Regions from separate parts of the Homo sapiens genome. Here all the other regions are linked to region 2. Evidence: promoter capture Hi-C in 16 types of primary human blood cells and fetal thymus (Javierre and others, 2016). All regions are on one chromosome and are shown on one strand. The core of a region is centred on a gene start or on the middle of the fragment in contact, and the rest is flanking DNA. Distances in the headings are between cores, read along the strand shown. Region 1 overlaps LOC105377407 (a long non-coding RNA gene). Region 2 holds the start of SPRY1 (sprouty RTK signaling antagonist 1). Region 3 has its middle 340 kb from the start of LINC01091.

Region 1 (3,532 bases), core at 911-3,410, 710 kb after region 2:
AACTCATTCTTGGTCTAGTTTTGACTGAGAAAAGAATCTTCTGATCTTATATACAGTTTAGAAAAATAGTTTGTTTTGTTTTGTGTTGGGCATAGGAGCAGATGTAGGTTGTTGTCATTCCTAGAGAATGGTTTATGTTGTCCATGGAGGCAGGAGTGGGTTGCTATTAGTTTTTGAAATGTTTTCTGTTATTTACTGAAGTATGTTTGTCATTGTTTACCATACAGGTGGAACTCGGTTAATGTTAGTTTTAGAAGCATGGTTTGTAATGAGTCTATTGCTGGTTAGCTGATGTTCAAAATGTAGGGCTGTCACTGATTGGCTGGTTTTTAGACACGGATTGACTGAAAAGCGTTGTCATTGATCAGCAAAATATGTTAAAAGCCACATTTCTTACATTGACTTGTTAAAATGTCTACAGAACAATGACTTTTATTCTAGGAGTGTGGACTTTTAATTTTTATGTGTTAGGGATAATTTGTTCTTTGAAAGTTAAATAAAATAAAATAAAACTCTCTGTGCCTGAAGTTTAATTTGGGGAAATGTTTCTGTTTTGCTACTATTTCAAGTCCTTAGTAGTAGCAGGACTATTCAGGCTTTTAGTTGCTTCTTGATTCTGGTTCGGTAAGTTATAGTTTTCAATGTATTTGTCCATTTTGAATAAATTTTCAAAATTGTTGTCTCTTGAGACTATTTTCCTGTTATCTTTTAATTTTATTTATGCCTCATCTGTAGTCTGGTCATATTTTCCATTTATAATATTTGTGCTTTCTTTCTTTTTGTCTTTAATTGTCTTGTTAACTATTTGCATATTTTGATGTCATTTTTCTAAACAACCACTTTTTGGTTTTATTGATCCATCTATTGTGTTTTCATCACTCTAATGTATATTTTCTATTTTATCATTTATGCTTTTATTTTTATTGTTTCTTTTCTTCTGTTATATTTGGGTATATTTGGTTATTATTTTCTAAATGTTAGATACTTTGCTCATTAATTCTTAGCCTTTCTGAATTTCTGATGTATGCATTTAAAAATATAATGTTCCCTTAACGGGTGTCTTATGCAGCCCTATACATTTTGACATGTAGTATTTCATTATTATACACCTCTAGGTCTTTTGAATTTTTCATATTGATTTATTTCTAACTCCTGAGTTATTTGGAAATTTTTTTCTAATTTTCAAATATAAGATAATTTGACTTATCTTTTTATTATTAACTTCTGAATTTCTTGGTTTGTGGTTAGAGCATATGGTCTCTATCATATCTGGAAAATAGAGTAGAAGGGGTACAAGGGAGGTTTCAGTCCCAATTTCTACCAAAATGCTGAACCAGCAGAAGCTTCAACGTCTACTTTCCTTCCTCCTTATGCCTTTCTAAATAGATTATACAATAACTCCTGGAGAGTTGTACTCTTTAGATCTTTTTTTCTGTCTCTTCTGGTGCTTATGAGTTTATATTCTCCTCCTTATGCCTTTCTAAACAGATATACAATAACTTATTGTATTATATTGTATATTGTATAATTATATATTTATATACAATAAGTTATTGTATAATCTATTTAGAAAGGCATAAGGAGGAGAATATTAGCTCATAAGCACCAGAAGAGACAAAGAAAAAGACCTAAAGAGTACAACTATTTCAAAACTACAAATTGAAATTGTATTTCACTGAAAGTGGAGAAAATATAACTAAGAAACAAATAATACAGAGTAAGCATAATAAGTAAAAAAGGAAGCTATTAAATATATACAATAAGAATAAGAAAGCATAAGAAGATCCAAATAGGATTATGTGTGAAGACAATAGATGAAATAAAGAATATACTAGGTAGTATAAATAAATAATCAGTGAATTACAAAATTAAAGATTAGTTTGGGAAACATTCCAGAAAGAAACAAGGAAGCATAAATAAATAGAAAACTTAAAGAAAAGTTAAGGGACATATGGGGAAAAAACAAGTATAAATATCCTTAATCAAATTCCTGGAAAGAAAAAGTTCAAGAAGAAAATATAGCCATTCAAAGTAGCTAGGATATAATTCAGGTGAAACTTAGGACCTTCAGAACCTGCAGAAACCTTGTATCTGAGTCTTCAAAGAAGTTTAGAACTTCACCAAGTTTAGAAGTAAAAGGAGGGACTAAATATTTTAGGAAACTTGGAAAAGAGAGGTTTGTTTCTGTATCTGTAAATAAGCCACATAGATTAAGTGTGAGATTTTGAGATTTGTTCTCACTCGAATGTATTCCAACTACTAATATGATTTGTCAGTGAGTTGGCCAAGCCCTTTTAGAGTTGTCAGAGATACCAATAACTCTCTACCTTAGACCCTAGACTTGGCCAGTCCAATTCACAGACCTATTGCTGCCTGGCTGGCCTCTGTAAGCATTTGCATGTAAATCCCCGTAATGATTATGACTGTAGATTCTGAAGTCAGGGGCCTGGGTTCCAGTCCAACCTCTGTCGAACACTGATTGTATAATACTGGGCAAATTACTTAACCTCCTCTCTGCTTTAGCTTCTATATCTGTAATACTAACTCTTGCAGCACTTTGTATAATTGTTCAGGATTTTACAAAAATACATCTCACAGTAGTTTCTGTTGTTATCAGCCAGTTTACACCAGAGCACATTTCGTTTTCTCCGATTTCTGATTGGTTTAGACACTTTATTACATAATATCTTCAATGGTTCCTTGATCAGTAAGAATAAAAAGCCTGAGATACAGGTTACATCACTATTATAGTAGAATCCTTTGCTCAGATTTTTAGAACTATTTTGGCGAAAGAAAAATGGAAAAGACACTGTTGTTCATCAGAGAATCTTGGAAGGTTGGAGATAAGAAAAGGTTGGGTTGAAATTGGAGATTTTGGTGAGAACTGAATTGCTCACCTAATAGAATGGCAGGTAATTGTGACTCTTAGTGATGATTCCTAAAGTTTGCTGGAAGGAGGAGTGAGAAATGGAGAAGTTGAAGCTTGAGTGGGAAGAATTTTAAAAGGAAACTTTTAAGGAATATATAAAATATTATTTAAAGATAATTACATGTTGTGATGTACACCCTCTACCTTTCTAAATCATCAGGAAGACCTACAAAGTTTATGTTATTTTGTTGGGATTTTTGCCTAAGTATAAGAGAGAAAGACCAAAATCCATTTCTTGCTGCCAAAAAGTTTAAGACATAACTAAAATAATTTAGCACAAGATCTGAGTTAGAAGTGTGACTATGTGAAGTCAGCCCTATTAATTTTCATATATATCTCGAAGAGAAGGTTGGGTTTACTGCAGGACCCAAACTAGGACTTCCGGCTACTCTTATCCAATATATTGCCAGGTTGATTCAGTTGATATCTGCTAACAGCAATACCTAATATTTTGCCTTTCATGCTAATACATAAATATTTATTCATATATAATACATATATTTTTATATAGAGAGAGGGTATTGGAATAAAAAAATGTGTGTTAGAACTAGGGCAGCAAGAATGGAAACAGAATTTAAAAAAATCACTGTTACGGCAGCCATT
Region 2 (3,574 bases), core at 213-2,712:
CTATTCCAAATACATTCACAAGAAACCTATCCATCACTAGTAAAATTTCATTACATCCCCAAATCTAATGAGATCTATGAAAAAAATACAATGAAATCAATTTTATTCTTTTAAATAGCCTATTTTAATACAATTCATAATATTAAGAGTGAATATGTAGCTTTTTGGCTTGATTCTTATTCTATGCTATTTTCTAATGATGCTTTTTTATTGTTATTCATGTTCTTAACAATGCTCTGTGTTCTTCAGAGGCAATTCCAAACACAACTTTAATTTTTGAAAGTGCTCAGACATTTGAAAGTCCTGTGTGTGTGCGTGTGTGTTATGTATGTATATATTTATAGTTTCAACAGAACCACTTGCTATTGTAAATGAGACTAAAAATGTACTTTGAACTAAAAATTTCCATACTTATATGTTTATATGATTTAGATTCTAGAGTTTTGTTATTGTTTGCTTTGTTTTGCCAGACTTTAAGCTACTCCTGATATATAGTACCTGGAAAAATATTTCCTTTCCACTAAGTTTTTGGTCTTTAGGTGGCTTTTAAAAGTTTCTACGGAACCTTCAATTCCACAAAAAGTTATCCTCACTGCAGCATGAAAAGGCACAACTTTGATAATAAATGCCTAAAATCCCATAGTTTGTAAGAAAGTAGAAATCAAGTTTCCTACTTAAAGTGTTTTTTTTCCAGTCATATCAGCTATTACTAAGAATTATAAAACTTCTTGATAAATTTTTTCTATTCTAATTAATTGACTTTTAGCTAATTAAAAAATATACGGGTTTGTATTTTTTGCAAAATTATACAACTATATTACAAAATTGAAAGAATTTGGTTTTTTCTCCATGTGCTTGATTTTTGGGAAATCATATAACAAGCCAAGGTAAAGCAATTATTTAAAAAACCCACAGCAGAAAATTTCACCTTTATTACATATGCTTATATTACATTTGCAGTAAGGAGTGCCACCTTTTGAACTTTAGGTTTCACATATTCTGAACTTTGTTGTAAATAGGAACTGTAATGTTATATAATCATCTTTTTGTGTCAATATACGTTTTCCCTCTAGTTGGTCAGAAGTGATGGCTTGGCATACAACTTTTTTCATTTTCTTTTATTCTTCACAATTCTTTTCTAATTCAACTTAAGAGTAGAGTCCACCAATCCTTTTAATTGAGATCGACAACTGAAGATTGCTAACTAAATCCGAATGTATTCCTCTATGACAAACTGCATTTGCAGAATTTTTAGAGGCACTCCCGAAGTTTTAAGAGGATGTTTATTACACGAGTCTGTAGGGCAACATTTCCAAGTTGGTACACATAAACGAAAGAGGAAACGATAGTTAAGGAAATCCTGTTCCAGGTTTTCGGGCAGCCCGAGTGATTGACACATGATATCACCGGAGGCGTGTCCTGGAGTGGAGGTGGAGGTGGAGGCAAGGAGCTGAAATTCTGCGTAGCCGGAGTGAGACCGCTCTGCAAACCACTGCGTGCTTTGCAGAGTGATTATCAGCACAGTTCCCTGCCCTGGATAAGGAACAGCTACAGTCGCTGTTAAATGTGCCTGAAAAGCAATTTGCAATCTTTGCATTAGGTAAGTACCGTTTCCTTCCGTAGACATTTTAGGAAAGATAAGGTGAGAAATGTTGACTTTTGCAAGGAACTGAACATTTATTTATTTGAACTTGCTTTCCAGCTAAGGTTACTGGTTGCATTTCAAAACACCGGTAGCATTCCCACTGCTAAAACTAATGCTCTTAAAGTAAATGCTACCGCTAAAAGAAAAAGCAGGGTCCCTTTCACCTTTCCTTAACCGAACAGTAGACGTTTAAAGTCTGAAACGATCGAATTTGTGAAACACAGAGCCGTTAATGCCTTTATGCGAAGAGGGGCTAGCACTCGGTGTGTGGACCAAATGCGTGTTTGTTTAGGCATTGTTGGCGACCGAATCCCGAGTGAAGCATTGGTTTAAAACCTGAATTTCCCGTCTCTGTGTATTGATTCCTAACGCGCAGAGGCGTTGCTTGAACGTTGTTTGAACTCCTAGGCATTCCAGGGGGCAAAAGCACCTCGGCAAAAACGTGCAGGACTGCATGTTACTTTGGTTCGCGGCTGACACGCCGACTGTGCGCCGGCCTGTCAATCACCGGGAGCAGCAACAGGGAGCACATGGCAACGGGCTGCGGGCGAGCTGGCCAGCGGCCCGCCCGGGGTCCCAGCCCTTCGAAGAAAGGGACATTCACGAGCTTCTATCTCTAATTCTCTGTCGCAGGCATTTCGGCCGTGGAACCCCAGGCTCGGAGGACTGGGTGTGAGCGCTGCCCGGGAGAGGCTGACCTGCCGGGACCGGAGTGCCCGGGGACGCTGTGCCCCCACTTGCCCAACGTGCGGAATCGGCTAAGCGCGTCGGCCTGCGCGGGGCACAAGGGACGACGCCCGCCTTTCTCTCTCCGAGAAGGATCCCCAAACCTCACTCTCTTCACTCCTCCCCGCTAAAAAAAAAAAAAAAAAGAAAAGGGTAAAAAAATCCCCCTCCCCCTCCCGGCCGCGGCAGCCTCTGCCTGGCAGGCGCGTGCTCCGAGGTTTCGCCGGGGTACTGCGCGGCTCCGTGACCCACCCGCCGACGGCGGTTCGGGCCCCGACCCGGGCGCTGCGGAGTCTCGAACGCCCGTGACGTGGATTTTTCGCTCGTCAGGAAGCCGCCATCCCTTCCTTCGTTCCTTGCGAGGAGCGACTAGAACCCGAGTTCTCTGAGCACACCGTGCCGTCAGCTGGCCCGTCACGCACTCGACTCCGCCACTCCCCTACTTGTTTTTCTGAGACTTGGGAAGCCTTCCTGAAAGGATTTGTAAAAACTGGTTCTTGGAAAGGGGCTGCAGAAGACCTCCCGAGGTGGATGTTACTGAGCCGCCCGGCGAGCACCAGCCGTGACAGGTCCGGGCCCGGCCGCGCGGAGCCGCGGGAGAACTGCCCTCCGCAGCCGGAAGGGGGCCGCGGGGAGCGCTCCTGGCCGGTGGCGGCGGGGGCGGGGGAGGCCGCGAGCCGAGGCGCTCCAACTCCGGCGATGCCGCCTCGCCCTCCCCGCCGCGGTTGATGCGGCACGTGCACGCCGCCGCCCGCACCAGGACCTGGGCCGGGTCGCACGGCTTGGCCCCCGGCCACCGCTTCGGCCTAGGTGAGTGTGTGCGGCGGCCGCCCTCGGCCCGCTGGGCTGTAGGCGCGCGGGCGGGGCTCGCTCGGCGCGGCAGGTGCGGACTCGGCGGCGCTGCTGCCCGAGCCAGGACTCCGGGAGAGGAGGGGAGGGGAGGGACGACCTCGCTCGGCGCGGCCCCTCCCGCCGCTCCCTGCCCCCTGGGGGCCGCGGCTTCTGGGGGCTCAAGGTTGGGTGGCGGGGTGGGCGACGGTCTGCGGCTGCGGAACGTAACAGGACAGGGTCTCCTCCATCCCCGATTACCCGGAGCGGCGGCGCGGTGGCCCAGGTTGTCCTCTCGGAGAGCCCTTCACGCCCAAGGGGGATTTCAGGCGGCTCTGGGGATGTCCCCGGAGGCCCTCTTTGGAGGAGTGTGCC
Region 3 (4,037 bases), core at 290-2,789, 600 kb after region 2:
GTTAACATCTAAAAGTTTTAGTGTAAGACTGGTTATCCTTTTCAGTTTTGGAAAATTTCATTATATTTTTTCTTCTGTCAAGCCACTTCTTCCCAATTTTTTTCTTTTCCCTCTTTGAGGGAGACATAATTGTTAGGTTTTGGGTCTTCTGAGTTGAATTGTCTTATGTTTGTGTTTCTGTCTTGTCTTTTTGTCTTTGTTGGAAGGGAGTTTCTCAAATGATATCTTCTAGCTCTTGTTTTTACTTTTAAGGCTTGGCAAGTGTAGTTTTAATTTCCATCAATTCCTTTTTCCCTGCTCCTTTTTAAATAGCAACCTACTTTTACTTAATATATCAGGAATCAAAATAAATAAAATATATTACAAATAATAGTATGAAAATATATAAAATTAGGAATTGATATGGTCTGGGAGGTAATGATATGGACAGGAGGCAGGGAAATACTGTGTAGAAGAGAGAGGTCCCTGGCGAGGGCCACATGGTCAAGCCTGGACTCATGGCCCAAAGTGAGAACGTACATTCTTTTTGTCCTGCTCAAAAGTTGCCTTTTCCAAAACCACCCCTGGCCCGCCTCACCCCCGATCCTGTACCCATAAAAACCCCAGTCCCCACCAGCAGAGTGGCAGAACAGTCAAGAAGGAGAGAAGAAGCAGCTGGATATTGGAGAGAAGCAGGTTGAATTCAGAGGGATGGCTTGATGGTGGGACCTTGGAGAAGAGTTTGGCCAGGGATGGCCAAAATCCATGGAAGACCACCTTCTCACTCCATCCCCTTTCCAGCTCCCCATCCCACTGAGAGCCACTTCCACCACTCAATAAAATCTTCCACATTTACCATCCTTCAACTTCTTTGCATGACCTGATTCATCCTGGATGCCAGATGAAGACCTGAGTGTGGGTTCAAGAGGTTGTCACAGTGACCCTCCACTGAGTTAACACTTAAGCCATCCATGGATGGCAAAGCTAAAAGAACACACTTTAACACATACCCTCTGGGGTTCCAGGGGTCCCTGACAACCCCAAGATGCTGCCATGGGCCTGCACAGAGTTCTTCTGCCAGAAGTGCTCATTCTGGCCTCTGTACCTGCTCACCTGCATGCTCCCCCTCCCACAAGAGGTTGAGAGCTTTGAGCTGAGTACATGAGTCAACTCCTTTGCAGGGGTCAAGGGAACTATCACATTTCAGTAGGACAGGCTTCCTTGTGAAAATGACTTTTGAGCAGAAATCTAACCGATGCTAAGGAATTAGTTATAACGATGAAAAATGACCTAGTCAAGTAGGAGGAGGGAGTAAGAGCAGTTCAAAAATAGGATTATAGTTGCCTGCTCAAAGGCTTCTTTAATGGCCAACACATTTACAGTTATGATTTCTTCTCTGCCCATGGCTTCAGGGCAACCCATAGGTTTGATATGTAGCACTCTAACCTGAGTGTGTAAATGTTCTTTAGCTGCAATTTTATGTACCTCACTGACACAAAAGTAAGTTAGGGACTATTTTCCAGTCTATGTATGTTGGCTCTTATGTTGTTGTTGTGGATATTTTATGTTTAACTTTTTGATTTTTTTCAGTATTACTTGAAAATGTAGTATATATATTTTCAACATTTAAGCATTAATTGAGATCTTTTATGACAAAATAACATTTGTAAATATACCATAGGACCTCAGTAAATAGTTTACTCAATTTGGAATGTACTAAATCCTATGCATATCTGTTATTAAGCTATCTTAATTAGATTATAAAGAGATCTATATTTTCATTTATTTTGGGCCTATGTAGGTCATAAAAGTATTTAAATATATGTCAAAGTTCCCATGACAATATTAGTAGATATATTCATGTTTTAACAGTTTTGACTTTGTATGTCTCTATAAAATATTATCCTGCTAATAAAGTTTCATAGCTGTTATTTCTTATCAATATTAGATAACTTTTTTCTTTTTAATGAGTTTTTTTACCTTGAAATCACTTTTGTCTGAATTGCTATTATAACCTTTGCCTTTGCTTAATAAATCTCTCTCTAGCTTGCATTTTTAACCACGCTCTATAACCTTTGAGGAACCTGTGTTGTAAAAAATTAATGTTAGACTTTCTTTCATGTAACATGAAAAATATTACTATTTTAAATTCAGATGAATACACTAAACTATTAAATTTGGAATTACGTATTTTCTTCAACTTTTTAAAAACTTTGCCTTTAGTTTTGTAGCTAGATTTACAGTTGTTTAGTTTTAACAGTATGGTTAACTGTTTTCAATTAAATTATGTCATCCACATCCTTCAGTTCTTAATTTTTATTCATCTCTAGGTCCTCATATTTTGAAAGACCACCTGTGCTATATGTTTTATGACTAGGCAGTCATTGCTCCATCCATCTGTTTTTCAGTATTGTGTGTGTGGTTTTTTTGGGGGAGCGGGGGATGGAGTTTCACTCTTATTGCCCAGGCTGGAGTGCAATGGCATGATCTTGGCTCACCGCAACCTCCACCTACTGGGTCCAAGGAATTCTCCCGCCTCAGCCTCCCGAATAGCTGGTATTACAGGCATGTGCCACCATGCCCGGCAAATTTTGTATTTTTAGTAGAGACTGGGTTTCTCCATGTTGGTCAGGCTGGTCTTGAACTCCCAACCTCAGGTGATCCGCCTGCCTTGGCCTCCCAAAATGCTGGGATTACAGGTGTGAGCCACTGTGCCTGGTCAGTATTTTGTGTTTTATAGAAGATGTCTTAGACAGCTTGATATTTTTACTTTATAATCAATTAACTAGCTCTGCTGGATGCTTTTAATACTTTTATGTGTAATAATACAAAAATTTGGCCTATTTCTAGGTGTAAATATTTATTTCTAGAGTCCATGGAAAGCTCTTTCAATATACATGCATAAAATAGTATATAGTCATTAAGGACATATTGTTTTCTGTCATACAGTCCTAGGAACAGTTTAACAAGTACTTAACCATTCTAAGGCTCAGTTTTCTCCTCTCTAAATGAGACTAATACATACTAGCTCAGAGGATTATTTAAGAAATTAAATGAGATAATTCAGGATGCCTGGTAAGAGCACATATTAAAAGGCTATGTTTTTTCATTCAGATAAGCTTTCCTTCATTATTTTTTATTTCTTCTGTTCAAATTATTCTCATTTCTCCACTCAGGAATAGCTATAATTCTCAGTTTTCTCTCCATTCTTTTGCCATTTAGGTTTATCATCTATTTCAACCTTTTCCACCTCATCTTTCCTAACATGCTGGGGAAGTTTCTCAAACTTGCCTTCAAATTCAATGATTTTATTTTCAGTTGTATTCATTTTGCTCTTCACTACCTTCACTGTGTATTGTAATTCTCCTATTTTATTTTTATTTTCTTAAGTCCTTTCTTATTTAATGTATACTCCTGTTAAACCCACCCTGTTAGTATTCTCTAAAGGTTAGTATTCTTATTTTACGGAGGTTGCTGGCTCAAATGCCATTTTCTTAGAATACTTTCCTTATCCCGAAGTAAATAATTATTTATTCTTCTTACTTATCTCAAGATGATTTCCTTTTCCTTTCTTTCAGTTTTATTTGTAAGTTCTTGATGAGTACTTTCTTCCTTATTCACTTCAAACATGGCAAAATCCATACCTGCCAGATAAGCCATACTTGATGCTTGCTAGTGGGCAATGAATGAATTGCACCCATTTCTCTCTGTCAATTTGGGAAATCATTCTGTTTTCTTCAGAGATGCAGTGCTAGCTCAGCCCTCCCTCCAGAAGGAATTATTCCTGAGGAATGGTTCCCAAGCTTTGTTTTCCCCCAAAACATTCTTCTTCTGTAAGATGATAATAAAACAGGTTTTAAAAGGCGGGGAAGGGAGCAGTCCATTGAGAAGTAATTTTAGTAATCACTGTGGCAAACTGACTTGAACAAGTTTCTTTACCTCAAACATCTTAGAGTTGACATATGCTAATGTGTATTGTGAATTCAGAGCTTTTATTTTCCTTATAGAGCACCTAATAATATCTTGTGGGAAATTAATGCTCCATAGAATAAAGTTGA

The links. The method cuts DNA at HindIII sites, captures the fragments that hold promoters and counts their contacts. A CHiCAGO score of 5 or more calls a contact.
Region 1: a fragment that was not itself captured here is called in contact with the fragment with the promoter of SPRY1 in region 2 in 2 of 17 cell types (endothelial precursors and megakaryocytes); the score reaches 10.0 in endothelial precursors.
Region 3: a fragment that was not itself captured here is called in contact with the fragment with the promoter of SPRY1 in region 2 in 1 of 17 cell types (endothelial precursors); the score reaches 6.0 in endothelial precursors.

The regions. Positions count from the first base shown.
Region 1 is chr4:124,106,655-124,110,186 of GRCh38, forward strand. The region is part of intron 2 of LOC105377407 (a long non-coding RNA gene); the gene reads right to left. Among named protein-coding and RNA genes, the nearest start is that of LINC02516, 450 kb to the right of the region's middle. The HindIII fragment of the contact is 1,639 bases long and covers 1,342-2,980 here.
Region 2 is chr4:123,395,333-123,398,906 of GRCh38, forward strand. It overlaps SPRY1 (sprouty RTK signaling antagonist 1), which reads left to right and starts at 1,463. Exons shown (of 3, transcript NM_001258038.2): 1 at 1,463-1,600; 2 at 2,279-2,524. RefSeq lists a silencer at 2,898-3,447. The HindIII fragment of the contact is 9,971 bases long and covers 1-3,574 here.
Region 3 is chr4:123,991,482-123,995,518 of GRCh38, forward strand. No RefSeq gene overlaps it. Among named protein-coding and RNA genes, the nearest start is that of LINC01091, 340 kb to the left of the region's middle. The HindIII fragment of the contact is 3,113 bases long and covers 1-3,096 here.